Regions from separate parts of the Homo sapiens genome. Here regions 1, 2, 3, 5 and 6 are each linked to region 4. Evidence: promoter capture Hi-C in 16 types of primary human blood cells and fetal thymus (Javierre and others, 2016). All regions are on one chromosome and are shown on one strand. Each heading gives the region's core, a stretch centred on a gene start or on the middle of the fragment in contact. The rest is flanking DNA. Distances are from core to core; before and after follow the strand shown.

Region 1 (4,603 bases), core at 1,788-4,287, 1.2 Mb after region 4:
GTCTCAAAAAAAACAAACAAACAAACAAAAAAGAACATTCCCATTTCTGAAAATTCTCACTTTGCATGTTATAATATCACAATATTGTCATAATGAACACATATGTAGTAATGATTATATTTGTTGGCATTTGTTTTAGTGAAAAATATTTCTATGAAGATAATATCAGTGTTTTGAACTTTATGATACATGCAGCTCCTATTTTATAAGCTTGGACATGCAGAGCTGCCATGTTTTACACACATGGATGTGTGCATGCACACACACACACACACACACACACACACACTTGAGCTTAACTTTACCAGTCCCGTGGACAACCCAGCCAACAATGCTCCCTGTCAGTTCCATGACATCCTCAACTCTGATAATCCTTCTCTCCGTTCTATTTCCACCATCCATTCCTGGACCACATCATGACATTGGCATTACTCAGAATTCCTTCAACTACACAATCATTCCCTGCTTAGAGTTTCCTTTGGTTTTCCCTGTTCAATTTCTCTGTGTCATCCATCCCTTCAAGCTCCTGACTTTATTCCAATCATCAAGCTTCTCCCTTTTTCACTTGCTAACTTATGAAGCTTCTGTTCTAAGTAACACTCTTGCTATACCCTAAACCTCTTTACCTCTCTGTTTTGTTTTATAGACAAACCCCATCTAAGACCTGATTACATAAAAGTTAAGAACAAGAGTTTGGGGCAAAATGGTGTACATCTGTTTTTGATCTCTGAGCCTTCTGAGCAGCTGGCACCGGTGGAGGCATTATAGGCAGCAAATACATATTTGCTATGTGAATTTCCCACCCCTAAATATTCTTTTGTCTTAAATTTCAACTTTTATTTTAGATTCAGGTGGTACACGTGTAGCTTTGTTACCTGAGTACATTGCGTGATGCTGAGGTTTGGGATGCGATTGATTCTATCACCAAAGAACTGACCATAGTACCCAATAGTTAATTTTTCAACCCTTGCCCCTCTCCTCCTCCCTTTTGGAATCCCCAGTTCTACTGTTGTCAGCTTTTGTTTGTCCATGAGTACCCATTGTTTAACTCCCACCTATAAGTGAGAACATGTGGTGTTTGTTTTTCTGTTTCTATATTAATTCAGTTAGGATAATGGCTTCCAGCTACATCCATATTCTGCAAAGGACATGATTTCATTATTTTTATGACTGTATGGTATTCCATTGTGTATATATACCACATTTTCTTCATCCACTCCACTACTGATGGGAACCTAGGTTGATTCCATGTCTTTGCTATTGAGAATTGTGCTGTGGTGAACATAGGAGTGCATGTGTCTTTATGGTAGAACAATTTATTTTCTTTCCTCAGTATTCTTAAATGGGTGAAATCGGATTAAAATGGCCAGCATGAAGAGGCATCAGAATGGGGAAGGTAAGTGGCTGTGCTATCACTAGACCAGCTGATGGAGCATGTTTAAAGCCTCCAGATTTTTAAAACCAATCCTCTTTCTGTACACTCTATTTTCCATGTTTTCTTGAGCTGCTGCCACTTCCCATTTATATCCCTACACATTATCACTGCCTCAAATTTCTGTAGAAAATACTCAAACTGTATTTAAAGGCTTTAGAGATGGAATTTCAACAGCCCTGTCACTTTCATTGTGTTTCAGCCAAGGGTAGATTGCTCTAATTACCTACATCTTTTTGGCTGGAGCAGTTTCAACTTTTCTCAATTCCTACTTATATCTTTCTAATGAAATAACAAGAATACAGCAGCTGAAAAATCATGTCTTTTAATAACCCCATCTCATAATTTTTTATTTCTTAATTCAGTATGTTTGGTATCAAAAACTATTTCTAAGTTGTTCTTTTCCCATTGTGATTTCTCTCCTAGTTTTATGTGTGTGTGTGTGTGTGTGTGTGTGTGTGTGTGTAAGAAAAAGTCATAGCTTTGATATCATAGTACAAAAGGAAGTGGAAATCTTCACAAAGCAATTCAGCATCTGTGGCTATGCAGGGGAAATACTATAGATAATTGAAGATATTATCTAGATAGCTTGCAATCAAAATGTATGTTCACCTGAAATTGCTTTGCACTTAATGGCACTATTCTGGCACTTATGCTACTGAACATCTATGTTCCAGTTCTCTTCTTATAGTCATGAAAATGTTATAAGTAGAGCCACAAGTTGAATTTCATACGTCCTAGCCAGCTCATTTCTTAGCATTATAGCTGGACTGTGAAAATATGCTGGTGCCTTGGTCATTTTGACTTCGTTATGAAAGCCTAATGGTACAACCTAATAGTACACTGATACTCTGTGTAAGGCTAGAAGCATATAGTCTATTTACTGTATTTTTTGAAGCACAAACTTAACCGTAGCATTTTGTAATTCATATAAAGCTTCTCCTTTAAGTTTGAGAGAATGAGAATGCCCTCTCTCTTAAACATGAACCAAAATATTAAGGGAAATCACTATTTCTTTATAAGCTTGCCCTGAGAACCATCTAAATTCCTAACTCTGTAACAGGCCAATCTAACTCATACCCCATTTGAAGCCTATAATTAGACGGCAAAACCTGGGCAGCTCACTCAATAGCAAGTTGTGAAAACATACGGTGACATCTAATGTTGGATTTCATCTTCATCAAAGGAGACTGCATAATAGCAGGATGATAGCTTTGGGGTTAGAATCAATTTATAACTATGTGTAACTTTGTGTAAAACACTTTTCCACTTCTTGGACTTTAGTTTTCTTTCTTCACTCAATATTTACTTCCTTGGCAAATACCAGGTACTAAATTTTTAAATATATTTATAATTATGCCCAGCATCTATCATCATATGAAACTGCTGTGCTTAACAGTAACAGTTCAGAAAGAAACATTGTCTCTTCTCTCAGGAAGCACACACTCTAGTGGGACAAATAGAGAAAACATTGTGTCACTATAGATATGCACATGGAACATGATGTAAGAATGCAGCAGGAAAACAATAAGCTGATGATAACCATTTCCAACAGATTGTGTTAAATGAGATTCTGTATGTAAAATTGGGCACCTAGTAGTTTTTCCATTTACAATCCATGAATACAAGAAATTCAGGCTCTTTAAAGGATGGATAGGAAATGATGAATGAGAAAGAAAGGAGACAAAGATAAAGGAGGATATGAAAAGCTGTGCTGCCTTGCTGCTCCTTCACTATGAAGCTCGGAGCCCTGCACCCCCAACCTGGCTGTACTCTGTCCCTTACAGTCACCATGGAAGTCTTGATGCCAACTGCACGTAGCATCTATCCACCAATTAACAAGCAGGTCTGGACTGTGCTCTGACACTGCTTCCAGCAGATGGAAGAGCAAGGAGAGTTTTGTGATGTGGAAACTTATAAATCCTAAATGTTAAATAGCTTAGAGGCAATTTAACAGGGAATCAGAAAGCCCTGTGATCTCTTCATATCATCCCTTCTGATTCTATGACCTCACAGGTTAAATTAATATCTAATGTGCTGGCATATGTAATAACAAAGGCTGTTGGACATGCAGGTTATATCTGAATATTCATTCTGCCTCTGAGCCATTGCCTCCAGTCTCTGCCACAAAGCAACTGCCCCCAATTTGTAATGCATTCATGTTTACAGCAAACTGGTTCAAGCTTTATTCAAGTCTGCAAAGGAGAATCTCTATTTTGCTCCTCTTGTAATACTCTTGGGTGATGCCTTAATATTACTGTTCCAGAAACACCCCTGGATCTAGAGAGTCCTTAGGGTTGAATTGGACAGAAGTTGGAGACTCATTGCTAATGTGCCTTGACTTCTGGGGCCCTCCTGAGGAGAAACACCTGGAGCACCACGAGGCAGATGCCCATGGGCACAGCCTAGCTGCCTGCTTAGCTGGCAAGCTCTTAAAAGGAAAGCCACTTCTCATTTCCCTCAGGATTCAAGAGTGCCTACTTTGCATCAGATTAATGGAGGTTTTTCCACACAGAAATAAAATGTGATCTCTGATCATTTAACCATGTGACTCTGAGGAAAAGAAGAATTCTGAAAGTACATTCCGAAATCCTTTCATCACATCAAAGTCTGAAGCATGATATAAAAAGAAGCCTAAATTACCCCCTGAAAGCAGCTGTTGTGAGGTGCTAATTCAATTACAACTTATTCATATCTATTTCACTTCAGGTTTCGAACATAGAAGTGGCATATATTTCACTCTGTACACTTCACATAAGTACAAGACACTGAAGAAATCTTATTTTGCTGTGTTCATCCCCAAACCGCTCAGGGGAAAAAAAAATTAGACACTCTAAGAGACTGCAACATTTAGAAACTTTTATTACGTATGCCCTGAATATTATGAACACCATAGGCCCCTATGCTTAAATGTTTTCTCTGTATACTTTAAGTAAGAAGGATGGACTTTGAATCCCCTATTTCCTTACAATTTTTAAGAGCATCAGTTTGCCTGGGTCATCTTATGCCTAGCTTCAATCAAGTGCCAGCACAGCGGATTCCTAATTTGGTTATACATTAAAATCATCTGGCGAGTTTTTATTAAAACAATTCTGATGCCCAGATCACAGCCCACGCAATTAAATTACGAAGTCCATGTTGGCAGCCAGAAAGAAGTCAGTATTTTTTAAA
Region 2 (4,284 bases), core at 186-2,685, 1.1 Mb after region 4:
GGAACAAGATTGCAACAAAATCATAATTTACAGACTAGCTGCCATATTAGCAAATATTACTGGCTACATTAAAAAGTCCAAAGCAACCTATAGACAGCCTATTAAAATCAATAAGAATACTTGTTAAGTTCACTCCATATAAGATCAACATAAAAAACTTAACACTATGCCCATATTTTAATGATAAAAATAGGTAATACAATACAAAAATAATTCATTCACAATAACATAATGATTATATTATGTCCATAAGATAAATCTGACAAAAGCAGTGCAATACCTTTACAGAGAAAAATATAAAGCATTTTTGAAAGAGATAAAAGAATACATGAATAAACTGACAAAATTTTATAGGTAAAAAGCTTAGTATATAAAGATACAGTCTTCTAAAAATTAATATATAAAGACAATACACTCAGAATCAATAACACGATAAGATTTTTTTGAAAGACTTCTACAAAAATAGTCAAGCAAACACTGAAAAAAGAAGAAAAAGAAGAGCATCATTGCCCTATTAAATATCAAGGGAAATTAAAAAGCTGTGATAATTGAGAAACTATGATATTGTCATACAACACATTTAAAAAATAATTATTGCAACAAAACAGAGGGCCACAAAACACACACACACAGGCATACCACAGAAACATAGCAGACTTAGTTCCAGACCACCATAATAAAGCAAATATTGGAATGAAGTGAGTCACACACTTTTTTTGGTTTCCTAGTTTAATAGCATTAGGTCTAAAAAATAATGTGCATGCCTTAATTAAAAATACTTTATTGCTAAAAATACTAACAATCGTCTGAGCCTTCCGCAAATTGTAATCTTTTTGCTGATGAAGGTTATTGCCTCCATTGTGATGAATGCTGACTAATCAGGGTGGTGGTTGTTGAAGTGTGAGGTGACTGTGGCAATTTATTGAAATAAGACAACAGTGAAGCTTGGCACATTCATTGACTCTTCCTTCTGGGAAAGATTTGCCTGTACCTTGTGACACTGTTTGATAGCATTTCACCCACAGCAGGAATTCTTTCAAAATTGGACTCCATCCTCTCAAACGCTGCTGCTGCTTTATCAACTAAATTTACGTAGTAATATTCTAAATCCTTTGTCATTTCAACGATGTTCAATAACATCTTCACCAGGAGTAGATGCCATCTCAGAAACCCATTTACTTTGCTCATCCATAAGAAGCAACTCCTCACTCACTGAAGTTTAATCATGAGTTTGCAGGAATTCACTCCCACTTTCAGGCTTCATATCTAATTCCAGTTCTCTTTTTAGTTCTACCACATCTGTAGTTACTTCCTTCACTGAAGTCTTGAACCCCTCAAAGTCATCCATGAGGGTTGGAATCAACTTTTTCCAACTCCTATTAATGTTGGTATTTTGACCTCCTCCCATGAATCACAAATGGCCTTAATGACATCTAGAATGGCGAATCCTTTCCAGAAGGTTTTCAATTGACTTTTTCCTAGATTCATCTGATAAATCACTATGTTTGGCAGCTATAGCCTTACAAAATGTATTTCTTAAATAATGAGACTTGAGAGTCAAAATTACTCCCTGATCCATGGGCTGCAGAATAGATGTTGTGTTTGTAGGTGTGAACACATTAATCTCTTTGTACATCTCCTTCAGAGCTCTTGAGTGACCAAGTACATTGTAAATGAGCTGTAACACTTTGAAAGCAATCTTTCTTTTTCTTCTGAGCAGTGTAAGTATTCAGTAAACCACGTTGCAAATAAATGTGCTATCATCCAGGTTTGTGGCTCCATTAACAGAGCACAAGTAGAGTAGACTCAGCATAATTCCCAAAGGCTCTAGGATTTTCAGAATGCAAAATGGAGCACTGGCTTCAGCTTAGAGTCACCAGCTGCATTAACTCCTAATAAGAGAATCAGCTTGTTCTTTGAAGCTTGGAAGCCAGGCACTGACTTCTGTTCTCCAGCTTTAAAAGTCCTGGTGTCGTTTTCGTCCAATAGAAGGCTGTTTTGTCTATATTGAAAATCTGTTGTTTAGTGTAGTCACCTTCATCAATTATCTTAACTAGGTCTTCTGGATAACTTGCAGCAGCTTCTGCATAAGCACTTGTTTCTTTGCTTTGCCTTGTACTTTTATGTTATGGAGAGAGCTTTTTCCTTTAACTCCATGAACTGACCTCTTCCAACTTCAAACTTTTCTTCTGTGGCTTCCTCACTCCTCTTACCCTTCATAGAATTGTGGAGCCTTAGGGCCTTGTTGTGAATTAGGCTTTGGCTTAAGGAAGAGAATGTTGTGGCTGATATGATCTATCCAGATCACTAAAACTTTCTTTATATGAGCAATAAAGTTGTTTTGCTTTTTTATCATTTGTGTATTCACTGAAGTAGTATTTTTAATTTCCTTCAAGAACTTTTCCTTATACAACTTGGCTAACAGGCACAACAGGCCTACCTTTCAGCCTATTGACTTTCGACATGCCTTCCCCGCTAAGCTTAATCATTTCTAGTTTTCAATTTAAAGTGAGAGATGTGTGACTCTTCAGCTCACTTAAACACTCAGAGGCCAATGTAGGGTTACTAATTGGCCTAATTTCAATATTGTTGTGTCTGCAGAAATCAGGATGCCAAAAAAGAGAGAAAGAGAACTAATGGCCTATATGTGGAGTACTCAGAATACACACAACGTTTTTTAAGTTCACCATTATAAATGGGCACAGTATGCGGTGTTCCAAAACAATTACAATAGTAATATCAAAGGTCACTGATCACAGATCACTATAATACACATAATAATCATGAAAAAAATTAAAATATTTCAAGAATTACCAAATGTGATACAGAGACATGAAGTGAGACTGTTCTTGAAAGAATGTTGCCTAACCACTTGCTCAATGCAGGATTGCCACAGACCTTTGATTTGTAAAAAAACGCAATATCTTTCAGCTTTCCTTTACTGAGTAATAAGATAGAAGCTATAATAAAAAGTCTCCGATCAAAGAAAAGCCCAGGACCTGATGGCTTCACCACTGAATTCTACTAAATATTTAAGAACTACTAACAGCAATTCTACACAAATTCTTTAAAAAAAAAAACAAAAAACTGGAGAGGAGGGAATACTTCCAAACTCATTCACCATGATCAAGTGGGATTTATTCCTAGGATGCAAGTAGTATGGTTCAAGATACTCATGTCAATCAATGTGATACATCACATTAACAGAACCAAAAAAAAAAAAACCGTAAGATCATTTCAATAGATGCTGAAAAAGCATTTGATAAAATTTAACGTCCCTTCATGATAAAAACCGCAACAAACAGAGTATAGAAAAAACATACCTCAAAATAATAAAGGCCATAAATGACAAACACATAGCTAACATACAGAACAGGGAAAAATTAAAAGCGTTTCCTCAAAAACCTAGAACAAGACAATGATGCCCACTTTTACCACTTTTATCCAATATAATACTGGAAGTCCTGGCCAGAGTAAGTAGGGCAGCAAAACAAAGGACATTCAAACTGGAAGGTAATGAGTTGAATTATCCCTATTCACAGATGACATGATATTATATTAGAAAAACCTAGACTCCACCAAAAAATTATAAGAAGGGATAAACGAATTCAGTACAGTTGCAGGTTAGAAAATCAACATGCAAAAATCAGTATCATTTCTATATATCAACAGCAAACAATCTGAATAAAAAATCAAGAAAGCAATCCAATTAAAATAGCTACAAGAAGAAAATACTTAGGGATCAATTTAACCAAAGAAGTAAAATATCTATACAAGAAAAACTAAAAAACACTGATGAAAAAAAATTGAAGAGGACACAAGAAAGTGGATATTCCATGTTCATGAATTAGAAGAAGTAATATTGTTAAAATGAATATAGTACCCAAAGAAATCCACAGATTAAATATACTCACTATGAAAATGCCAATACTATTTTCACAAAAATAGAAAAAACAATTCTAAAATTTATATGGAACCACGTAAGAACTCAAAAGGCCAAAGCAATCTTTTTTTTTTCTGAAAATAAAGAAAAAGCTGAAGCATCACATTATCTGAACTTCAAAATATACTATAAAACTATAGTAACCAAATCAGCATGGTATTGGCATAAAAACAGACACACAGACCAAAGGAACAGAAGAGAGAAGCCAGATGTAAATCTGCACATTTACAGCCAACACATTTTCAACAAAGATGCCAAGAACATATAATAGGGAAAAGACACTCTTCTCAATATATGGTTTGGGGCCAGGCGTGGTAGTACATGTTTGTAACCTCAGCACT
Region 3 (4,190 bases), core at 845-3,344, 1.5 Mb before region 4:
TTTGCAGGCGAGGAAACAGAGCCTCAGGGAGAGGACTTTAATGAGGTCACTGACTAGGAAGAGCCAAGGCCAATTATATTAATAGAACCTTAGGTCTTCTGACTCCTTCTCCGGTGCTCAACTCTAGTATATACCATTTTTGTGGGAATGAGGTAGATGAGAATAGGCAAGGAGGCTCACTTAAAGATTTTAAGAAACATTACTCAGTTGCCCTTTCGTTGATATTTTTATACTTTACTTTTGAAATGCGGTTGTTATGTTGCCCAGGCTGGTCTCAGACTCCTGGGCTCAAGCTGACCTCTCACCTCAGCCTCCGTAGCTGGGATTACAGGTGTGCACCATCTAGCCTGGCTTTTATATTTTTATTCTCGAGTTAATTTCTTAACTTTGCAACTTGCTATTTTTTTCGAAAATATTGGAAAGTTAAATAGCCCATTTGAACACTTAGTTTTAACGCTACCTTTTTGCCATATTTGCATTTTTCCACTTATCTCACATTCTGTTTTCTGAACGTTTCAAAGTGCATTACGGATATGACAGTTCAGCCCTAAATGCTGTATGTGTGTCAGTATGTATTTTGTAAGAGATCAAGGCCATTTTTCTGTGTAACAATACCGCAATCACACTTAAGAAAGTGAAGAATATTCCTTAAAATCTAACGTGGTGTAGTATATATTCACATTTCCCCCCATTTCTTCAAAATTCCTTTTCAGTCTTTTTTTTTTTTTTTTTTTTTTGAGATAGGTACTTGCTCTGTGTCCCAGGATGGAGCGCTGTGGAGCAGTCTTGGCTCGCTGCATCCTTGACCTCCTTCCTGGGCTCAAGCCATCCTCCCACCTCGGCCTCCTGAGTAGCTGGGAACCCAGGAGCACGCCACCACACTCAGCTAATTTTTGTATTTTTTGTAGAGATGGGGTTTTGCCGTGTTACCTAGGCTGGTGTCAAACTCCTGGGTTCAAGTGATCCACCTGCCTCGGCCTCCCAAAGTGCTGGGATTACAGATGTGAGCCACAGCACTGGGCGAAATTGACCTTTTGAAGAGACCTGGTCTGTAGTCTTTCAGAATAACCCATATTCCATGTTTTAGTGATAGTTCCTCCTGATAGTGTTTAAATTTGTTCCCCCTATCCTCTCTGTTTTCTCTAAACTTGGATTTGGGTCTAAAGGCTTGAATATATTTAGGTTTAATATTTTTTTGACAGGAATACTTCATAAGCCATGCAGTATGCTTCATTGCATACAACATCCAAAGGCACATAAAGTAGGCTTGTCTTATTAATAATCCTAAATTTGATCTCTTAGATAAGGTGGTGACAAGCTATCTTTCCATTGTAAGCATTTCCTTCTGCAATTAGCAAGTCATTTGTGGTGTGATATTTTGGCATTAGTAGTTGGTAGGAATTTACCTGCAGTAATCTGATAAACACAGTTGGGAGCAGTCGTTTAGGTATGGCTTTGGAAGTTAGGAAGAAGAAGAAGTGGAGACAATTCTGGAGGAAATACTAACCCATCTACTTTAGGGAACTTGGAATGCTTCTATGTGTTGGCATCAGAGCCTAGGGAGACTAGGAGAGAGGAGGCAGAAAGTAGATGTCAGAAAGCTTTGCCTTCTTTGAAAGTTTGCTTAGGACCATTTTAGCCATAGTAAGCTATGGTAAATAGAAAAGTTCTGAAGTAGTTTGATGTTGGAGGATTGCAAGTGCTTCAACTGGAACATCTGTCCAGTTAGGCTACTAATCCAGTCCTTTTTCATTCCAGTGTTCTATTAATCAGCATTGGCTCACTGAAATAGCAGTTTTCACAAATGAAAAGTCAACTGTAGTTTTAGGTGACAGGAAATTGGATATTTCTATTGACAACATACTTTGTTATTCCAAAAGCAAGTTTTGGAAGATGAGGAATACTTACGACATATTCACTAATTAAATATATAAATCCTGAATAGTTTTTTTCTTGCTTTAGAAAGGAATTAAAAACTTTGAATTTTCAGATTGCTTTAAATAGTGATTTAAATAATGACTTGATTTAATCAGTGCCTTATATCAAAAATTGTATGTTTAGAATTTTGATTTATTTCTCCAGAGCAATTTTAAGGATTCTCTTAACCCTCAGTATACGAGGAAAAGTGTACAATTATCACTATCATCTGGGTCAAAAGGGACTGGTTTTTTTTGCATTTTACGTTATTATGTATAATTTATAGGAGTAAAAATAAAGCATAATGTAAAACAACTTATTGGAGCTTTTAATAAGAATTTCAATACAGCAGATATCTTTGTATGTACTTAGAAAAATAAAAAATAAAAAATCTATTTCATGCATTTAATTACATAACACTCCTACAACAAATATACATCACATTTGAACGCTTTGCATAAACATTCTCATTGTAACACACATTTTTTTCTTTTTGAGTTTCTGTATCTGTACAAAGAACATCTTTCTTTCTTCCCATTTTCAGATCTGTGCAGAAATCATTGTGGTTAGAGGGTAAGACAACATTCCCTTCCTATTTTCTGCAAGTTATTTTCCTAGTTGCATGAGGAATTTCTTCTTGGTAACTTCCAGTTTTGTAACTGAAGCTTTTCCCGTACAATGAAAGTATACTCTGAACTAATATCAGTCATAAGCCATCTTCAAATCATTCTCTTCCAAGTATTGTTTCTGACCCACTTTTTGAATGTGTCACTTCTGTAGTCTTTTTGTAATACAGATCACTTCAGATTAATTTATGCAAGGATTTTAAAATTCATTGATGGTTGAGAATGCACTGAGCTGAGAAGAGTAGGTATAGTTTTCCTTAGGACAATAAGAATCATGAATTATATTCGAAATCCAGATTTTGTGCAGTTGACTTCTTTTGCTTTTCCATTTGTGAAAATTCACAGAAGTTCAATGCTGTTCTTCCTAACAGTGCCAACTAAGGAGAGTTTGATGCTGTGTGATATTCAGCCAAGTCTAAATTTGTAAAAAATTTGTCACAAGTTATATGTCTGACAGAATTTTGAAATTTTTCTGTCATTTCGTATATATCAATCTTGATTCTACTTTCATGCCTTTTCCCAATCTCTGTGTAGATCTGCATTGTCCAAGCTTATCATATTTCATTGTCACCTGTTGCTCAGATTTTCATTTCATGTTTTTCACCTTTTGAAGGTATTTCTACCTGAAATGGGCAACATCATCTGAATGGAATTAACTATAGATGCTCCTTGAATTACGATAGGTTACATCCTTGATAAACCCGTCATTAGTTGAAAGTATCATGAGTTGAAAATGCATTTAATACACCTAACATACTGAACATCGTAGCTTGGCTTAGCCTACCTCAAATATGCACAGAACATTTATATTAGTCTACAGTTGGGCAACATCATCTAACTCAAAGCTTATTTTTTAATAATAAAGTGTTGAGTATCTCATGTAATTTATTGAGTACTGTACTGAAAGTGAAAAACAGAATGGTTGTATGAGTACTGGAAGTAATGAATGCACTTTCACACCATTATAAAGTTGAAAATTGTTGTAAGTTGAACCATCTTAAGTTGGAGACTGTCTGTACTTAGCAACTTTCATACAAGACCCTGGAACTATTTGTCTTATAAATACTGATTCTAAATTTCAAATGCTTCCCTGATAGGTTCTTGCTTGTCATTCCTTCTGGGTTGTCTTTTTGCATGTACATCATCAAAATGCAATACTGGAAGAATTTTTGAAACCTTTGATGGTTCATAATTTTGTTGAAGACAGGACGGCCATCTTCTTTGCTCCACAATTGCAAGATTTTTCAATTTCAGATTTATGAGCAACTAACTAGAATGATCAATCCAATGAATTTTTTAAAATGTCTATATTTTCTATTTCCTTCCAGTCACCTTTGCATACCCCTGCATTCAATACTTGGGCACTTAAGCGTTGTATCAAGGCCGGGTGTGGTGGCTTATGCCTGTAATCCCAGCACTTTGGGAGGCCAAGGCAGGATTGCTTGAGCCTAGGAGTTTGAGACTAGCCTGGGCAACATAAGAAGACCTTGTCTCTACAAAAAATAAAAAATTAGCCGGGTGTAGTGGCATGTGCCTGTGGTCCCAGGTACTTGGGAGGCTGAGGTGGGAGGATCGCTTCAGGTCTGGGTTGCAGTGAGCTGCAATTGTGTCACTGCACTCCAGCCTGGGTGACAGAGTGAGACCCTG
Region 4 (4,543 bases), core at 913-3,412:
GGTGATATGGTTTGGCTGTGTCCCCACCCAAATCTCATCTTGAATTATAGCTCCCATAATTCCTATGTGTTGTGGGAGGGACTTGGTGGGAGATAATTGAATCATGGGGCCAGTTTCCCCTACACTGTTCTCATGATAGTGCATAAGTCTCACGAGATCTGATTATTTTAAAGGGGTTTCGCCTTTCATTTGGTTTTCATTCTCTTTGCCTGCTGCCATCCATGTAAGACCTGACTTGCTCCTCCTCGGCTTCTGCTGTGATTGTGAGGTGTCCCCAGCCATAAAGAGTCCATTAAACCTCTTTCCTGTATAAATTGCCTAGTCTAGGGTATGTCTTTATCAGCAGCATGAAAACTAATAGAAAGGGAGAGGAGGTAAACCCAGTTATTCAAAAAATGACAATAATTTAAATATTTGGGCAGTGGCACATTAACAAATAAAACGATGGAACTGAGTCCAGAAATGGAGCCATAGATGTGACATTATGAGTGAGTGGGGGAAAGGATGCTTTATCAACATACAGCACTGAGGGAAAGACACTGGAGTCTTATGTCATTTATACTTAAATTCCAGACGAGTTGAAAATTCAAATGCAAAAAAATGAAACTACAAAACATAAGAGAAAACATTTTGAAAAACAATTTTGGAGTGAGAAGTGCAGTTTAAAGGAAAGTACCAAATCCAAAATCATAAAAAAATTGGATAAATCTGAATATATAAACAACATATTTCTGCATGGAAAAATACCATGAGCAAAGCTTAAAACATTGATAGGGAAATAATTTCTAAATGCATGTCAGCAAAGGACTAACCTTAACGTGTAAAGTGCTGTTGAAAATCAACGAAAGAATAGAAAACTGCGTAGGACCTGAACAGGCAATTCACAGAAAAAAGCTGAAAAACATTGTGAAAGATTCTTAACATCATTTGTAATTAAATTCAAGTTGAAATAATAATAAGATAAATTTTCATCTCAGGTTGGCAAAGATCACTTTTCACAGCGGGGTAGTGAAACAGACATCTTATTTGTTGATGCTGAGTGTTAATTGGTAAAAACTTTTGGAAGGCAATTTAGTATTATCTGCCAAATTTTAAAACTATTTATCTATATCCAGCTCCTCTGATCCAGCAGTTCTACATAAACCCTCTCCTGAAAAAGCGTACCAACAGATACTTATTATATCAAAAGATAAGAATGCCCATCGATTAGTGACCAATTAAAATACTTTCATACAATGGCATATATATATGAAAAAGAATGTTAAATACCCTTTTACAGTAAAATATGTATCAAATGCCTATTATGTGCCAGGGACTGTTCTAGATACTGGGATGTAGTTGTAAACCAAACGAACTGAAATCCCTGCCCCTCATGGAGCTCACATTCCAATGAAGGGATACAAGGTAACAGCAAGATGCAGAAAAGAGTAAATAGCATATTAACTAGTATTATAAAGAAGAGGACGTAGAGACAGGCAAACACACAAATATACATGTTTGCCTATGCACAGAAAAGCTCTGGCAGGTAATAAATGGAACTGTTTTGCCCCTGGGGAGGAAGACCGCAGGTCTAGGGAGGGAGTCGTAGTTTCCGGCGAAAATATTTGTTTACTACATATGCATATTAATTAAAATGGGGGGGAGGCGGATAACACGATTTTATATTTAAAAAAATTGCTGGTAAAGTCCTTGGAGCATCAGCAACTCAACCGTTTTCATTGCAATGTTCGAAGCAACGCTGGATTGCAGGGTCTTCGCCGCTTACACCCTGCAAATCACTGTGGGACGAGAATCGAGGGCTGGTCTAGGGCAGGCAGTAGACAAATGAGTTAAGAGAGTGCTCTCGAGAGCACTCCGAGGCAAAGCACAAACCAAAGATACATAATACTTGCATAAATGCCGACACACAGAGAGAAAAAACTAGGCGCTGTGAGAGCAAGTTCACAAGGTGGCGCAGAACCACATTTCCCCAAAGTAACAGCGAACAGGTCTAGTCTGCAGCTCTGCGCCTGCGTCAAACGGCAGCGCATTTGACCACACGGCCGCCGGAGGCACAGTCGTGTTCGCATCTGGTCTAACAGACCCGCGAGAACGAAGGACGCTTGCCTTTTTCCGGTCGGGGAAGGGGGAAGAAGGTAACTTCCGGTGACGGGGTTGCATCACTTCCTCTCAAGCTTGGCGTTTGTTTGGTGGGGTTACACGCGGGTTCAACATGCGTATCGAAAAGTGTTATTTCTGTTCGGGGCCCATCTATCCTGGACACGGCATGATGTTCGTCCGCAACGATTGCAAGGTAAGGCGGTCGACACCAGTTCTTGCTTCAGCCTAGCTCCCGCGGTTCCTGGGCGCGGCGGCTCGGTGCTGGGTGCTTCTGCGTCTGCCGTGTTTGGCCCGGGTTCCTCCCGTTGTTCCCCTGGGAGGGTGGCTTAACTGGGCCTCCGTTCTCAACGTTCCGCTTCGGGGGTTTCTCCTTGCCCGTCTTCCGAGCGGCGCTGGCCACCACGCCACCCTTGGGTGGCGTTGGCAGCGAGGAACTTCAGGAGCGATCCCAGCTAGCGCCTACCAGGAATCTTGGATGTCTGTGAGGGCTGTTTGGCCACTCATGTACTTGGGCCAAATTCTTGAATCCAGTAAACTTTGTTGAGTGTATACCCTGTCAGGCATTACACTAAGGTCCATACTAAAGTGTAGAGGTTGATGGAAGTGTTCCGTATTGCTTAATGGTAGAGTTATGTATTAAGTTACTGCAGGTGAGTTGGGGAGGGTCCTGTACGGAAAGACTCAGCATAGAGGTGATATTTATCTTGGATCCTGAATTTTGCGGAAGAAAGCGGAGGGGGCCTTCTAAGTGGAAGGAAAGTGAACATTTTGAGAAAAGGCAGAGAACGGAGCAAATACATTTGTTTGAGGAAGTGACTGGATTGTAAATGATGATAGAGCCTTGGGCGTAGGGCTACAAGTATAATAAGTCTGTAAACGTAAATAATAAATATGAGTCCTAGTTGTGAAAGACGTTTTGAATGGTACATGAATTTGTCCTGTCATTACAGAATGAATCCCGTTCCTCTCTTTCTCAGAGAAACACATTGTTTCTCAGAATTTGATCTCTTACGTTTGCTTCTGAATTACTGGGCGTTTACAGATTCCTGGTTTTCACCAGATCTATTGAGTTGGAATCTTTGGGGGAGGGGAAGAGGGTCTAAGAATCTGTATATTAAGGTGAATTTGACGTGCTAAATAATTACAAGTCTGACTTCTTCACCTTATATCTCTGTAACAGATCAAAGATATTGACCTCATTAATTAGATCCAAGGGATTCAGCTGAAAGTGACGGACCAAAGCCATGTTTGATAACGTAAAAGAACCTAGAAGATTTTGAATACTTGCTCTCAGGAACATGATAAGAAGTTTATAAAAATGAACCAAAAGATTGCCAGGTTGGGGTCTAATTCAGAGTAGGCAGTATGGTTTTATACATGATGTCGTTACGATTTTGTGATTTTCGTCCAGGATGCTTGTCGGCTGGATATTGGAATTAGAACAACAGATCGTGAGAACTGTCAAGACCTGGGTATTGATTTGGTAGACACAGTGGAAGTTAAGTTGATGAAGAATAAGGACAGTGTTGAGTTGGTTGGGAGTCACCAGTGGATCCAGAAGAGAGTTGTTGGAGGAAATAAAAGATAGAGGGCCTGAAGCACTAACAAAGAACAAGTATCTCATCTTTTTTTATGCTTGATTTCCAAACCTAAATCTCCTGAGCTCCAAATCTGAATTTTCCATTGGATGTACCTAACAGTAGGTACAGTGGGCCTACTGAAAGAGAATTCCTTAGTACCTCAGATCTTTTTGCTCTGTGAATTAATACCACTCTTAAGTGCCCGGATAGTTTTGCTAGAAACATGAGAGTCGTCTGAATCTTTTCACCTTTTGTATCTAGTTATCAAGTCTTACCTATCCTGCCTCTGCAAAGATAGTGGTGTCTTTGCCTTCTTTCTACTTTCCTGTCCTAGTTCAGATTAGGCTCTTACCACTTTTATAGCCTCTTATCTAGCCTTTTTTTTTTTTTTTTTTTTTGAGACAGGGTCTCACTGTCTATTGCCCAGGCTGGAGTGCAGATGTGTGATCATGGCTCTCTGCAGCCTCAGTCTCCTGTACTTAAGCAGTCCTCCCTCCTCAGCATGCTGAGTAGCTGGGACTACAGGTGTGCACCACCATGCCCAATATCAAAAAAATTTTTTGTAGAGACGGGGAGATTAACATTGTGTGTGTGTGTGTGTGTGTGTGTGTGTGTGTGTAGAGACAGAGGCTTGCTATGTTTCCCAGGCTTTAACTAGTCTTTCTGCCTTTATTCTCTTAGTTTCTGAGACTGTTATTAATAGAAACTTCACCTTTTACTCTTCTTAGGCATAAATGGGTTAAGGGTAGAATTAATGCTAATTCTCTATATTTGCACATACTTTGCAAACAGGGAAAATACATTCTTAATGAGGGCTTAATAAATGTTGAATTAGTGGAATAAGAAAGGTTTGAAGAACTTTG
Region 5 (4,177 bases), core at 433-2,932, 1.2 Mb after region 4:
AAAAGTGCTTTTGACTTTTCCAACTGAGGAATGAGATTATTTTTCAACTGTGGGATTTAAATGCATCTAAGTGATTTAAGAAGTAAAATTTTAGGCTCAACAAATTCTGTCACAAGATATGGATGCTGTACTTCTCCAGTCAGTATTGGCAGTGCCTTCTAAGCGCTTTCATAAATCTCTGTTGTGGCACTGATTTATTATACAGTATGCTAACTACTATTTTACTCATCTGCCTGATTTTCCTTGCTGGACTGCGAGCTCCTTGAGGGCAGAGACCATGGTTCATTCATTTTTATATCACCAATGCCCAGCTGAAGGCTAGACTCATAAAAGGTAGGTTGATGAGTGAGTGAATAATAGTGTGCTTGCTTAGTAAAGCACAGAGTTAATGAGGCTAAGGACACGGGTTGAGTCCCTGTGTAGCCAATTAGCTTTGTTCTATTTCTTGGTCCAAATGGTGCCCTTAGTTCTCACCAGCTGTCTCACAAATTTGTGCCAGAACAAACCTTCTAACTATATATTCCAACAATAGTGAGTCAGTAACACAATAATAGTGTCTAAAACTTAACACCCTTAAAAGTGTTATTACATACATTTTCTTATTTGATACTTATCTTTAAAAACTTGCAAAACATTATAGTAGTATTATATGGTTCCCATATTGTAATGATGAAACAGGCTCAAAGTCTTGCAAGACTTATCTGGTTGTACAGAACTAGTAAGTGGTTAAGACTGGATTAAAAATCAGGCCTTGAACGTCTACTTCAAAACTGGTTCCCCTGTAAAGCAGACAAGTATTTACTTATACAAGCATAATAAATGGCACAATCTGTAATTTTTTGAAAAAAATTAATAATTAAATGGAGTAAATTATTCAAGCAGACACTTTTTTAGAATATTTCTGCTTGGGTAATGATTGTTAGACTTTGGATAGATATCATTTGATGTTGAATGCTGTTTGGTGGGACGGCATCTATACTTTCATTCTGTTGTTCATTTTTTATTTCCTTCAGTAAAATTAAAAATGTGTCAGCACTGTATTCCAGCAAATCATCAGATGAAGGGACTTTTAAAGAGGTTCTAAATTTTTTAAAAGACACAGCATTTGGATGACCTCAAGTAAAAATTTTTTTTCCACTTTTTGGATTTTTTTTTTTAATTTTGTTGATTCAGGAAACTGATTTAGTGATATGGCACAGCATTGAAGAGCTCAGACTCTGAAATCAGGGTGCCTGGTTTCCAATTTGGGCTTTAGCAAGTACTATTTTTCTGACTTTAGTAAAGTTTCTTAACATTTCTAAGCTTGCTTTATCTGCAAAATAGGTATAAATGTAATTTCTATTTATACTCTTGCTGATGAATCAAATGAGATAATCCATGTAAAGCAACTTAGATAGTATATACTTATTATGTAGTAGGTACTCAATAAATATTAGCTAGCAATAATCAATATATTAAACTTCTTACCAAATATTGTCATTTTCTACTATAATCTGCCCTCCATTCATAATGGCGACGTTTCCAGAGGAGTAAATGTTTTAAAATTCTTAATAAGTTTTAGAATACCAAAGAGCCATTCTTTGATTCAGAGTTCCACTACTTTCCACCTGTATGGCCATATGCTATTTATGTAATCTCCCTGAGCCTCAGTTTTCTGTATGTGTTCAATATGTCTATTTCTTTTTTCCTTTTCTATTCTTTACAGATTTCCAAATGCAAATTTCAATTTGGCTTGACAAAAATGAAAACTATAATCTTAATAATTCATATTCTCACTAAATGTCTTATGTACATTAGACATTTTTCCATGCTTGACAATAAAGTTGATGTATATATTGAGCAATCTTGTTCAATATTGGAAAGGATGAATGTCTTAAATACGTATGTACACAGTGATAAATGATCATTGGGTTTTTCTTCCAAGAAAACAACAATGACTTCCTTTCCTTTTTTTGAAGGCTAGAGTACAAATGTGAATAACATCACATGCCAATCATTCAGGAGTTATTCAATATGCACTGATGACCCCAAGAGCAGTGAAAATAACCGTGACAGAAGCTTCCTGATGACTGGGTGAGAATTATTATTGACCACAAACTGCATGGATTCAAAATTTTGTGGCGATGTCCTTTGTCTAACAGGTTTTTAGAAACTATATTTGGTACTAGAGATATTTTAATTACCCAATTTCTTGTTATAACCAAGAATCATACTGAAAGACCTTTCCACCTAACTGCCTACTATGTGTATAAAATGTGAAGCAAGTCAAGAACATATTTCTTTGAAATGGTCTAAAATATTTGTATCAAAATAGATCCACATAGAGCACTTTATTTAATATGATTGGACATAGCATCCTTTCTTTTTACAGGGTTTCAGATTCTCCCGTTTCCTAGTTGTTATCTCCAAAGAGCACGTCCACATGTTCTGTAGAGCCCAGAAGGGCAAAAGCTAAAACAAAACCCTAATTTCTGGTTTAGGGCCAGGGAAAAAGAAGCTCTTATAAGCATCGGAAGGGTTGACTCTAGGTCAGCTGTGAGCTAAGTAATGTTTTCTTCAGAACCCTTCACTGTCCAGGTCTTTGCCGTTTTTTCTCTCTCCTTCAGCAAACTCTTTGGTTACTTTGTCAATCTCTATTGAGAGAAAGCTCTATAAAGTACCAAAAGCTAAATCACAAATTAATAAAATATATCACATGGGAGGAAAAGGAAGTCAAGACAATGAACCCATAGTCATTTAAAAATAATTCTAACTGGTATTTTTGCAGTTGGTAATTTTGATTTATGAGTCATCTATAAAATGAAGGAAAATAAAGAGTGTTACCTATTCATGTTTTTGTTGTAAAAACCAAATGACTTAAAAATTTAAAGTACTTGACAGTATCAGCTGTTCCTTTTATCAACACCATCATTGTCATTTTATAAATAGGTGCTAGAGGAAGAGATACTTACCTCTGGAAATGCTAGAAGGGAACAGTATCTGATAGGATCATAGTAAGAATTAAAAGGGAGATAATAAAATCTTTCTCATATAGATGAATTTTCCAGTTTCCAGATATATTTCTTAAAAGAAAGTATACTTTTTAAAACTCCAGAAAGATCTTCTACTCTAAAATATTGCCCTCTTATAACACTGAAATTCCAACAGCTAGTAGAGACTTTAATGAATCATCCTATACTAAAAAATAAAAATACTTCCATTTTTATTTTCTTCCTGCAAATATTTTCTCCCATTCTGTTAGTTACCTATTCATTTTGCTGTTTCCTTCATCATACTGAAGTTTCTAAGTTTGATGTCTAATTGGTCTACTTTTGCTTTTGTTGCCTGTGCTTCTACTGTCATATTTAACAAATCACTGAGAAAGTCTTGAAGCTCTTCCCTGATGTTTTCTTCTAGGGGTTTTATAGTTTTATATTTTACATTGTAAACTATAATCCATTTTTTAGTTAATTTTTGTACATGGTGTAACGTAAGCATCCAATGTCACTCATTTGCAGGAGCATATCCAGTTTTCTCAACATTATTTGTTGAAGAGGCTGTCATTTATCCATTGTGTGGTTTGCCAACTTGAATAGACATTTCTCAAAAGAAGATATACAAATGCCCAATGAGAATATGAAATTATGCTCAACATCACTAATCATTAGAGAAATGCGTATCAAAACCACGATATTACTTCACACCCATTAGAGTAGCCATTATAAAACACACACAAAGAGAAAATAAGTATTGGCAAGATGTGGAGAAATTGAAGCCTGTGTTCACTGTTGGTGGAAATGAAAAATGGTGTAGCTACTATGCAAAACAGTAGAAAAGTTCCTCAAAAATTCAAAAATAGAATAAACATACGATCCAGCAATTTCATTTCTGGGTATATATCCAAAAGAATTATTATTTTTTAATCAACTTTTAAGTTCCAGCATCCATGTGTGGGGTATGCAGGTTTATTATATAGGTCAACATGTGCCATGGTGGTTGCTGCACAGATCAACGCAACACGTAAGTATTAAGCCCAGTATCCCTCAGCTTTTCTTCCTGATGCTCTCCCTCCCTCTGCATCCCCCAAACAGGACCCAGTGTGTGTTGTTTCCCCCCATGTGTCCATCTGTTCTCATCGTTCAGCTCCCACTTATAAGTAAGAACATGTGGTATTTGGTTTTCTGTTTCTGCATTAGTT
Region 6 (4,674 bases), core at 453-2,952, 1.1 Mb before region 4:
GGTGACTGTGGATATGGCCGACAACCTGAGGCTTTGCTGAATTAGGAGAATGACACTACAGGCATAATTAGAGGCATTTTAAACGGAGAAAACAAAAACATACTAACATCAGCCACAATATAACACTGGCATAACTTCAGGAGATGGTAAGGGAAAAAGGGATGAAGAAAAATAGAAATTCATCCTTGGGAATAAACATTTATGTACAGGGAAGAGCAGAGAAAGTAGATCTATTCTTGGAAAGGAGACAGGTTGGCCCACTTCATAAGAAATTACCTTTCCTGAGATCCACATAAAGAAAATCCAAAGACATCTTCTCAAATACATGAGGAGTGACTTACAGAGTGTGGTAAGTGTCATGGTTCCTTGGCCTAGCCAAGTTGACACATACCCAGCTATTCAAATCATACTCTAAGCTGGATGTTGCTGTAAAGGTACGTATTTTGCAGATGTGGTTAATTAGCTACAATCAGTTGACTTAAGTAGATTATCCTAAATAATTTTGGTGGGTCTCATCCAATCAGGTGAAAGGTCTTAAGAGCAAAACTGAATTATTTTGTTTTTTTTTTTCCCTAAGGAAGAAGAAATTTCACCTGTGGGTTGCAGCATCCACTATGCAAGGCATTTTGGCCTTCCCTACAGATTTCAGACTTGCCAGCCTCACAATCACATAAGCCAATTCCTTTAAAATATGTAAACATACAAATATAAAATATATATCTCCTACTACTTGTTCTCTCGTAGAACCTCGCTTTGTACACAGTATGGAAGCACAAACTCCTCAGACTAGCTTGAATACACTCGGAATTTGGTACCCCATATAACCTTTATCATCAGCTGTTCACTCCAATTAGACCAGTCTTCTGTGTGTCTTGTCATTTGCATGCTCGTTTTCCTGCTTCTACTCACACTGCCTTTCCCTTCGGACTTGTCTCCATTCTTTCTCCCACCTTTATAAATCCTTCATTTTACTCACACTCTAGCTCCATCCCAAGTCCTCCACGCCACTTTTAACTTTAGCTCCTTTTGCTCTTTCTCTAAACTTCCTTAGCAGTTATTAGCTACGCCATTCACTGGTTTTTAATCTTATATATCTCACCTACCAGTGTCTTTTTTATATAGCATCCACCACTAGGAAGTATAAATTTGCAAGTACAAATTTGGGTGTGCAAGACATGTCACTATTCTTTAAATCAAATTAAATTTACCACAGACTTAAGTGATCTCAGCCTTAATTCTGCTGGAGTAGAAGGAAATCCAATCTCAGTTCTTACTGGGCTTTCCTCTCTTCCTAGTACTGCAGTAGGGTTTGAAAGACTTATGTTGAGCCTAGAAAATGGAAGATGGACTTTGACATCCTCACTGGCAATTCCTCCACTTATGGGCCAAGAGAGGCAAGGGAATCCAGCCTCCCTAATGGCATTGTGCATCCATATGAGGTTAGAGTATCTCCCTGGGGTACTCTTATTCTTACTACTGGAACCCCAATCTTTGATTTTCTACAGCTCATGGGAATTTTTTTTTCTGTAATTCCACCTGCCCATAGATGCTTCTTCTTTCCTCTTTTTTTTTTTTTTTTTTTTTTTTTTGAGACAGATCCTCACTGTGTCGCCCAGGCTGGAGTGCAGTGGCACAATCTCGACTCACTGCAACCTCCACCTCCCTGATTCAAGCAATTCTCTGCCTTAGCCTCAGCCTCCCAAGTAGCTGGGATTACAGGCACCTGCCATCATGCCCGGCTAATTTTTGTATTTTTAGTAGAAACGGGGTTTCACCATCTTCGCCAGGCTGGTCTTGAATTCCTGACCTTGTGATCCACCTGTCTCAGCGCCCCTTCCTTCCTTCCCTCCCTCCCTCCTTTCTTCCCTCCCTCCCTCCCTCTCTCTCTCTCCCCAGATGTGCTTACCTTTTTAACCCCCTAGCAACATCTCCTCAAGGAGCAACAAACTTGAAAGACAGATTGCTGGGTCCAATTCCAGAAATAACATTGACACTGCATTCTAAGGAGTCCTGTTCCAGGAGGCTTCATTTAAAATGTGAATGGTGCCCCCTGGAGTTGCCTAAGAGAGAGCTCTTGTCAGACAACTTTCTGCCTAGTAACACAAAGTTCCCTTGAAGCCTGCTTGGAATGGAAGGGAGGGAAAATATAAGGAGCATAAAACCCAAATAAATAGCTCAATAAATTATCCTGTCACACACCTTTTGTTTGTTTTTTGTGTTTTTATTTCACTTTTAAAAATATGTATGGGCTGACATGTGTAGTGTTCCAATTAGATTATGAGCTTCTTGAAAATGAGAACAATATTTTACTACTTATTTTTTAATCTTTCTAAGGTCCCAATATAGTAACTTGTACATAGCAGGTTCTCGAATGTGCCTTGAAAGGAATGGAGGAATGATCGACCTTGTGAATTATTGGTTAGGCCCCACCTGTTCAGACTGCACTGGCACTGACTTCCTCACTGTGGGATTGGCTCTGGTGTCTTTTCATTGTCACTTTTAGTGTTAAGTAAATAACTAAAACACTTTTAGTGTCACAATTTAGTGTTTTTCTTTATCTGCTTCTGTTCACAGCCACTCCTTTCCTGAATTTCTAAGATATCAAATTTCTACTTGGGACTTTTTGGCCCAAGTTAAAGTAAACACTTCCTTTAAAATGTATGTAGATGATATTAACTTGAACCTTCTTTAATGTAAAAGAATTGAAAGTTACAACATAAACATGTATATGGTACCAACAGTGGAAAATTTCTAAGTGAAATCAAAGCGGGATCTAGCATTTGTTTCATCATACTACTCACTTGAAGAGCTGAGTATATTATGTGAACTTTATCCCACTAATCCTTAGAGATAAGCAAAGGTACTTGAAAGAATGACTTGTACAGATAGGGTCACATAGCCAGGTAGTGACAGTGTTAACAGTCTGCTGCCTTGACAGTATTTGAATAGTTAGGCTACTTAGCCTTAACACTGGGCTATACATTGTTTTAATGACATAATGACATATTTGTGCTCTAACAGAAGAATTCACATTTTCACAGCATACTTACATTAGCACTCTTGGTATTGAGAACATGTATCAAAATTTGCCAATATTAACTTAGTTCTGAACCCCCCAACTTCCCTCTTCTGTAATCTTGCTGCTGCTTTTATTTTTCTCCTCTTCACTCCCTCCCACATCCTCTTCTCTCTAATGCTATTAAAGACTGAAAGAAAGCTCAATCACATTACAGCATTGAAACTTATATATATATAAGCCCTCCTAGGACTACTTGCACTTTGAAAGACAACAGCTTAGCTGAAAGAAATTATCCATCACTTTCTGCTATCAAGGAAGAATTGGGAGAGGTGAAAAGCCTTCTTTCCTTGTTCTCTTAAATAACATGTAGGTCATTAAACTCTACTTTCAGCTTCTAGAGGAGAAAGCTTGCAATGGAAAAAGACAGAGGAAGTAATGATCAGGGGAAAAGAGGATGAGAGGAGTATTTTATTTTTATATTCAAGTTGGGAAAGAAGGAGAACAGGGTAGAACTTTACCTTTTCCATATCTGGTAAACCACCATACTTTGTGGAAGTGAAATGTATACTTTCAGCACTTAATCAGTATGTACCAATAATGAAACCGACTTTCAGGCCTTCCTTTGATAGAACGATCCTAACTATAATGCAAAGTAACATTTTGTAAAGTGGGTTTTTGTCTCTCTCTCCTTCTTTTCCCTCGCCTATACTACTTTAGGATCTGATCACAGAGTCAACACCGTGCTATGCATTATTCCTTCAGCAAACAGTACCCTTTCATGGCTTCACACCAGTGCTCATGTTACTCCCTTTATCTGAAATCATCTTCCCTCTGTTGCTCTGCCTACTCAACTCCTATTCATCCAACAAGACCCAATTAAAATGCCAGCCATGATGCCTTCTCCAGTTCTTCTACCCTGAGCAAGACCAATCCCTCCCTCCATTATGACTCCACAACACTAGTGGATATGTTTATAACTCATCATCTTATATATGTTAATATGTTGCTCTACTTCACAAAAATGTAAACTACTTCAAGTTGGGGCCAGGTCTTATTTATTCATATTTTCCGTGCCCAATACTGCTATATATCAGGCATGATAAATGTATATACTACAGTCTGGACAGTATAAAATGTTTACAGTTTCATAAAGGAGACAAGGTTTACAGACACAAGAGAGCAAGACAATATAATGGATTGGGCTAGGAAAATGAGGGTTAGTTAACTACTAAATTCCACAAATATTTATTAAATAGTCAGGAGTCAGGAATTATGTCCTGGGACTACTAGGATAAATAAAATAGTCATTTCCTTTGAGGTGCTGACAATCCATCTTGTAGATACTCTCTAAATGTGGACAACACTTCCCTGGTTTACCTATAACTTTTCATGTTTTCCTTATAGCAACCCTCTGATGTACATCATTATTTTCATTTTTATAGAGATCGAAACAGAGGGTTTGAATTCCCAGGTCTTCTGACTCCAAGGCCAGGTTTTTCTAACCCACTACATCAGTGTTCCTCAAAATTTTCCTCTGGTGTACACTTTCCCAGTAGAGAATAAACTTAGGCTCCTCAGGGTTGGGTAATACTTGTGTGTTATCTTAAAAAGTCATGCTTACTACAATGTCTTACCTTATTTACCAGAGAGTCAAA

What was found. The method cuts DNA at HindIII sites, captures the fragments that hold promoters and counts their contacts. A CHiCAGO score of 5 or more calls a contact.
Region 1: a fragment that was not itself captured here is called in contact with the fragment with the promoter of RSL24D1 in region 4 in 1 of 17 cell types (M0 macrophages); the score reaches 8.1 in M0 macrophages.
Region 2: a fragment that was not itself captured here is called in contact with the fragment with the promoter of RSL24D1 in region 4 in 1 of 17 cell types (M1 macrophages); the score reaches 5.6 in M1 macrophages.
Region 3: a contact is called between a fragment that was not itself captured here and the fragment with the promoter of RSL24D1 in region 4, in 1 of 17 cell types (non-activated CD4 T cells). The highest score is 6.3, in non-activated CD4 T cells.
Region 5: a contact is called between a fragment that was not itself captured here and the fragment with the promoter of RSL24D1 in region 4, in 3 of 17 cell types (M1 macrophages, M0 macrophages and megakaryocytes). The highest score is 7.7, in M1 macrophages.
Region 6: a contact is called between a fragment that was not itself captured here and the fragment with the promoter of RSL24D1 in region 4, in 6 of 17 cell types (non-activated CD4 T cells, total CD8 T cells, naive CD4 T cells and 3 more). The highest score is 12.1, in non-activated CD4 T cells.

What each region holds. Positions count from the first base shown.
Region 1 is chr15:53,952,562-53,957,164 of GRCh38, reverse strand. It overlaps a transcript of UNC13C not described here. Among named protein-coding and RNA genes, the nearest start is that of UNC13C, 24 kb to the left of the region's middle. The HindIII fragment of the contact is 1,160 bases long and covers 2,458-3,617 here.
Region 2 is chr15:54,117,843-54,122,126 of GRCh38, reverse strand. All of the region lies in intron 2 of UNC13C (unc-13 homolog C), which reads right to left. Among named protein-coding and RNA genes, the nearest start is that of UNC13C, 140 kb to the right of the region's middle. The HindIII fragment of the contact is 978 bases long and covers 947-1,924 here.
Region 3 is chr15:56,728,054-56,732,243 of GRCh38, reverse strand. The region is part of intron 1 of ZNF280D (zinc finger protein 280D); the gene reads left to right. Among named protein-coding and RNA genes, the nearest start is that of ZNF280D, 3.4 kb to the left of the region's middle. The HindIII fragment of the contact is 981 bases long and covers 1,604-2,584 here.
Region 4 is chr15:55,194,560-55,199,102 of GRCh38, reverse strand. It overlaps RSL24D1 (ribosomal L24 domain containing 1), which reads left to right and starts at 2,162. Exons shown (of 6, transcript NM_016304.3): 1 at 2,162-2,293. The coding sequence starts at 2,213. RefSeq lists enhancers at 2,198-2,357, 2,151-3,042. The HindIII fragment of the contact is 1,416 bases long and covers 761-2,176 here.
Region 5 is chr15:53,970,566-53,974,742 of GRCh38, reverse strand. It overlaps a transcript of UNC13C not described here. Among named protein-coding and RNA genes, the nearest start is that of UNC13C, 5.8 kb to the left of the region's middle. The HindIII fragment of the contact is 756 bases long and covers 1,305-2,060 here.
Region 6 is chr15:56,246,658-56,251,331 of GRCh38, reverse strand. It overlaps a transcript of TEX9 not described here. Among named protein-coding and RNA genes, the nearest start is that of RFX7, 5.1 kb to the right of the region's middle. The HindIII fragment of the contact is 3,453 bases long and covers 1-3,428 here.